Linked DNA regions of Homo sapiens: region 1 is linked to region 2. The links are contacts of gene promoters, found by promoter capture Hi-C in blood cells and fetal thymus (Javierre and others, 2016). All regions are on one chromosome and are shown on one strand. The core of a region is centred on a gene start or on the middle of the fragment in contact, and the rest is flanking DNA. Distances in the headings are between cores, read along the strand shown. Region 1 overlaps NTN1 (netrin 1). Region 2 holds the start of MYH10 (myosin heavy chain 10).

The links. The method cuts DNA at HindIII sites, captures the fragments that hold promoters and counts their contacts. A CHiCAGO score of 5 or more calls a contact.
Region 1: a contact is called between a fragment that was not itself captured here and the fragment with the promoter of MYH10 in region 2, in 1 of 17 cell types (neutrophils). The highest score is 6.2, in neutrophils.

Annotation. Positions count from the first base shown.
Region 1 is chr17:9,029,228-9,032,136 of GRCh38, forward strand. All of the region lies in intron 2 of NTN1 (netrin 1), which reads left to right. Among named protein-coding and RNA genes, the nearest start is that of NTN1, 9.2 kb to the left of the region's middle. The HindIII fragment of the contact is 3,093 bases long and covers 70-2,909 here.
Region 2 is chr17:8,628,930-8,632,131 of GRCh38, forward strand. It overlaps MYH10 (myosin heavy chain 10), which reads right to left and starts at 1,796. Exons shown (of 43, transcript NM_001256012.3): 1 at 1,725-1,796. RefSeq lists enhancers at 169-947, 948-1,725, 1,726-2,503, 3,202 and a silencer at 1,988-2,667. The HindIII fragment of the contact is 12,132 bases long and covers 1-3,202 here.

The DNA.
Region 1 (2,909 bases), core at 366-2,865, 400 kb after region 2:
TGCCAGGCATTGTCCTAGGTGCTTTATATGTGCTTTGTTTCAATTAATCAGATTGCCACAAGGAACGGAAGCTTTTCAAAGACAGATGTCCTGGCCATCAAAGGGCAGCTTTTACACAAACGGGACTAAGTGTGGATAAGTCTGCAGGGCACGTCTCGGCTTATTCTGTGACACTGTTGCATGCAGAGAGAGCAGGGGGTATCAGGAGCGTTTGCTTGGAAGACTGATCACATAAAAGCCGTGTCCTATTATAGCCAACTCGGAGGGACGGTTGTTCTGAATAGTACTTGAAAGAAGTGAGCTGCCTGGGCCAGTCCTGTAGATACAGACGTTCACCTCAAAGATATCTGCTCTCATGAGGTTTGACTTGCGTAGCACAACTTAGTGAGCTCAGTATTGCATTCCTGTCTCCTTACTCCAAAAATGGATTTCTATTGTAAACTAAGAAGTAGATTTTAATTTGCGTTTTAAAAGTTATATCATTGGCCGGGCGCGGTGGCTCACGCCTGTAATCCCAGCACTTTGGGAGGTTGAGGCGGGCAGATCATGAGGTCAGGAGATGGAGACCATCCTGGCCAACATGGTGAAACCCCGTGTCTACTAAAAATACAAAAATTAGCTGGGCGTGGTGGCGTGTGCCTGTAATCCCAGCTACTTGGGAGGCCGAGGCAGGAGAATTGCTTGAACCAGGGACTCGGAGGTTGTGATGAGCTGAGATTGCCCCACTGCACTCTAGCCTGGCAACAGAGCGAAACTCCGTCTCAAAAAAAAAAGAAAAAGTTACATAATTTATGTGAATTTCCCCCCACATCAAAAGGCCTTGGCTAGGTGTGTATTCAGCCCCAAATACATTATTTTGTGCCAGTTCTCCCCTCTGATGGAGAGAAGGGACTGTGGCCATGTGATTGATGAGATACAGAATGTCTCCCATCAGACCCTTTTCTTTTTCTCCCAGAGCTTAAGTTCCTGCCCCAAGCACAGTTCTATCAGAGGCAGCTGCTGGCACTCAGAGCACAAAGGAAGATACTCTCCGAGGAGAAAGGGGTACCTATGGTTCAGGAGTACCGCCAAGGAATGGAAAGCTGTGCTCCGCTCTTGCCTGTGTCAGGACCACCCCCAGCAATCCCTGGACCTTCTGTCATTGGGATTAGTGTACTAACTACAGTTAGGGTGAAATGAATTCACACTGCAGTGCATTGGTGCATGTGAAGAAGACCTAGAAGAAAGATGATTCTGTGGCTGGACGCAGTGGCTCACGCCTGTAATCCCAGCACTTTGGGAGGCTGAGGCAGGGGGATCACGAGGTCAGGAGTTCGAAACCAGTCTGGCCAACACAGTGAAACCCCTTCTCTACTAAAAATACAAAAATTAGTCAGGCGTGGTGGCACGTGCCTGTAATCCCAGCTACTTGGGAGGCTGAGGCAGGAGAATTGCTTGAACCCGAGAGGCAGAGGTTGCAGTGAGCCAAGATCACGCCACTGCACTCCAGCCTGGGTGACAGAGCAAGACTCAGAAAAAAAAGAAAAGAAAAAAAAAAGAAAGAAAAGAAAGATGGTTCTGTAAGTGTGGTAGACCTCCGGATTATTTAAAGGGTTCAAGTAAATTTGTTGGGTGAGAACTTTAAAAGCAGAAAGTAACACTCCAGTTCACTTCTCAACTCAGCTAGTGCCTTGCTGAGGAAGGTGCTAGAAGTCTGTCTCCCTGGAGGATTCAGGAATTGGCCTGTGTAAGGTCTCAGCTCGCTGCACACGTGGTCATATTTTAGTTGGGAACCCATCTGTGCCCCCTCCTGGCTGGTGCTATTGCTAGATTTTCTAGATTTTTCCCGTGTCTTTTTCTGCCTGAAGATGAGAGATTATTGGTTGTTGTGTCCAATTTTCACACATCCCAGAGACTCCACACTTAATTGAGACAATCTGTAGGACTACAGGGACCTCTAAAGGGGCTGGCTTTAAATAACTGAGTCCTATGTAAGGAAATGAGGTAGATCTCTGAGTTTCCTGAGGGCCTGTATGCTGTGCTGCATTCCATATTTGAAGTCCCCAAGTGAGGGACACTTCCTGCCTGCTTGATTGCCATTGTCAGGGCTTCTGATTTCGTCTGTTTCTGCTTTGGGGCGGCCGTGGTGAGTACCCAGCAAATAAATGTACCACCACTCCCGCATTCTAAAACCAGGGCAGACATTGGCAATCAACGGCAGCATGCTTTCCTCCTAAGTCGAGAAATGATCTTATAATATTAGACTCCTCAATATAACTCCTTAGGCAGAATTAGCCCATGAGATGAAAACTATCTGCCATTTTTGGTCCCCTTCTGAAGACCTTCCCCTTCCCCAACCTGCAGACAGAGAAGTACTTTGTATACATGGACATTTCTGGAGCATTTACTGTTCAGGTGGCTCTGTTTGGTCTGGGCATGTAAAGAAATGTAAAGTAGACCAGGTGCGGTGGCTCACACCTGTAATCCTAGCACTTTGGGAGGTTGAGGCAGGCAGATTATTTGAGGTCGGGAGTTCGAGACCAGCCTGGCCAACATGGTGAAACCTCATCTCTACTAAAAATACAAAAACAAACAAACAAAAAAAACTAGCCTGGCATGGTGGCCCACACCTGTAATCCTAACTACTCAGAGGTTGAGGCAGGAGAATCTCTTGAACCCGGGAGGCCGAGATTGCAATGAGTCGAGATCGTGCCACTGCACTCCAGCCTGGGTGATAGAGATGGTGTCTCAAAAACAAACAAAAAAAGAAGATAAAAAAAAAAAAGAAAAGAAATGTAAAGTGGATGCCCTCCCTGCAGGTGAAATATGTTTCCATCAAGGAGGCTGTGCACGTGAGAAGGTGCAGACGTGTCCACTTGCACTAACCCTGAACAGGGATAGGCGCCCCCAGTGAGGCACTTTGCTGAGTG
Region 2 (3,202 bases), core at 546-3,045:
TGCTGCCAAAGCTCGTGCTATATCGCACAATTACACCATATGCTTTCTCCAGATAAGGACGGGGAAGAACTGAATTTAAGATGCAGAAGTAAGGAGATGCATAAAATGGCCACTTTTCCAGAACCCGAGACAGGCAGGGCATACTTAAACATCAAAAGCAAGGGACTCAAAGAATAATTAATAAAGGCAGATTGATGAAGGAGATAAAACAATAAATAGATTATAAAGTTTTCCAGAGTGAGATACTATCAAGAATAATTAAACCTGACTCAAAGAATCCTCAGTTTCAACGTTAAAAAACAAAATCTCAGCAAAGCCAAAGTATTATGTTTGGTATTACATTATTCAGCGAAAACAGCAGTCTTTGTTTCATCTGCAGTCTGCATCTACCCCGCCTGCTTTCCCCTACCCCACCCCAGCCCACCCCACCCCCTTCCATCCACCGCAGTGATCTTGAAGGGAGCTGCAGAGGCCCTAAAGAAACAGAGATAACGGCTGTAGGCAGAGGCCACGTTATCCAAACCTCACCAGCCCGGTCTGACCCGCCGAGTCGCCAACCTCCTTCCTAAGGCCCTAGTTCCAAACAGGCCTGGCTGGGGGCCTCCCGCTTCCCAGGGCCGCATCCGCCCACCACAGGCCCACAAAGCCCCCACAAATGCCAGGACTCCGCGGCTTCAACTTCCCTCCGAACCAATTCCAGTCCGATTTTATGGGATCAGGGTGTGACCCCCAACTGCAGAAGGCAATGAAGAGACTGCGGCGAGCCATTCCCAGCTCGCTTACACAATAAAGGGATCCCGAGGCGAGTGCTGACCCTCCCCCCGGCCGTCCTGCTGCAGCGCGCCCCGCCACATTTCCCGCCTCGCCCCCTCAAACCGCCTGGGCCTCGCAGGGCGTCCACCCCCGGCCTAGGCGCTCCACGGAGGGCGCGGCAGGACGCCCTCCTCCCGCGCTCCTTCCCCGGCGCCGGCGGAGTCCGACCCTCCCCACGCCCGCGGCCGGCTCCGGAGCCCCTCACCCGCCGCGCGCTTCCCCGGCCGCGCAGAGCCAATGCCCTCCTGTCCCTCCACCCACGGGTCGGGCGCGCGCCGCCCGCCTTCCAAGCCCATGGTGAACCCCTCTGGTGCTGCGGGGGACCGGTCGCGCCAGGCCTAACCCACCCAGCAACCCACGCAGGGGCCCTTCCTGCCCAGCGCCCCCCCACCCTACCGCCGGGACTGCGCTTTCCAGCCCCGCTTAGAATCCCCTCTCTTCCTGGGAGGCAGACACTGGCTCGCGGGGCACGCCGAGACCTCCGCCGGGACACTAGCCCCTCGACCTCGCGCCCCCAGGGATCCCACCCACCGAGAACCTGGTCCTCACGTCCCCACCCCCAGATCTCCATCCCCCAGCCCCCCAGGGGTCGCCCTCCTGCACACCCAGGCCCTGACCCCCGCGGGTTTCACAAGGACTTCATTCCCCGCTCCTCCGGGAGTCTCTCCATCTCCACCCACTGAGGTCCCAGTGCCCCCAGCCCAGGACCCTGCTCAAACTAACCTAAGGTCCCCGCAGCACAAACCCTACAGCTCAGAAGCCCCTCTGTCTTCCCCAGCTCCCGCTTCGGTCCCCCGTTCCTGTCCTCCAGAGCCGCCCGGGACCCCTCAGCCCAGGAGCCATTCCTCCCTCCACAAACTGTCCCCCAGCCCTGGGCCGTGCACTCGGACCCGGGTAGCCGCACCTCTCACCTTCAGCCGAAGATGGTGGCGCGGGCGCACGTCCCCAGCCGCGACCACAGATCCAGCGCCTCAGTCCCAAACCCACCGCTGCCTCCGCCGGGCTCCTTTAGCACTGCTGCTCGGGGCTGCCCCACCCACCCCTACCCTCATTGGGCCAGCTCCACGCCCATCACCGCCGCCCCCAGACCCACTGGTTGGTTTGCGCGCCCATCTCCAAGGGAAGACGTTAGCAACCCGAACGAAGCTACCTTCCCGAGTCCGGCTCCCTCCACCCACCTGGAATGACGCTCATTGGCTCCCGCTCCCAGCCCAGGCCACAGAGGCCCCAATCTCATGGGCTGGCTCTTACGCCCGTCATAGGCTCCGGGAGGTGCGGCCGGGGCAGTGGCGCGGGATTGGCTGGCTCGTGCGTAGATGGACAGCTGAGGCTGGCTGAACGCCCGGCGATCCCGCGAGGCTGCGGGTGCGGGCCCCGCGGCGGCCGGCGCGCTGCGCTGACATTGGCTGTGCGGGCCGCGGGGCAGGTGGGCCGCGGCAGGAGGCTGGCGCTCTGACTGCAGACTCCTCGTCCTAGCGTCAGGCAGCCGCCGCAGCCGCAGCACATTCGAGCGCCCGGTCGCCCCCTGTGCTTGCGGCAGCCGGCATGTACCGCAGCGGGACGGGGTTCCACCGCGGAGTCGCGGGCCCTCAGCGTTGCCTGCAGGGGCGGGGCGGAGCGCGGTCCAGAGTCCTGACGTCACCCCCGGGGCTGCGCGGGGTTGGGGCCGCGGCGCTGCGACTCACCTGCAGTGGGGGAAGGAACGCGGGGGAGGGCGCTGCTCCGCCCATGCGCACAGGGTTTGGCCCGGGACCCGGCTGCGCTCCACGCTGCGGCCACTGTCCCGACCCCGGCCCCAGGCGGACTCTGCCGGGATCGGCCGAGCGCCAGGCGCAGGACACGGTCCTCCAAGGTCGCAGTTTTGGTGTTAGCGGGGTGAGAGGCTCTCCTGCCCAGCCTCCAGGCAAGGCTGAGATTCCAGAAGAATGAGAAGAGAACCGACCTTGGAGAGAAAACTTGGAAGAAACTTTATTCACCTCATTCATTCACTCGTTCAGTCGCTCCTTCATTCATTCATCAGAGCTCCCTACGTGAAGGGCTATGAGAGGTTCTTAAGAATATAAGGCTGGATTCCTGTAGCGCTGTCATATCCCCTAGGGCTTATGAAAACGTTGGAGACTGAAAAACAGTGGCCCCAAAATAACGAAAGGAAACTGGAAAAATCAAAGTAAATAAAATTTAATGAAATGTCTGCAGAATCTAGGCAACTGCAACAAAACTCTTGCATAATTATATATAAATATAATAAAGTCTAAATCACATGAACAAAATGAATTATTCATACAAAACCTGAAAGTCAAGATCATAAAAATTCACAGCAAGATGCAGTTATTAATCAGTTATTAATGTAGGCTATGGGAGCATTTTAATACATGTGATAATGATGTGT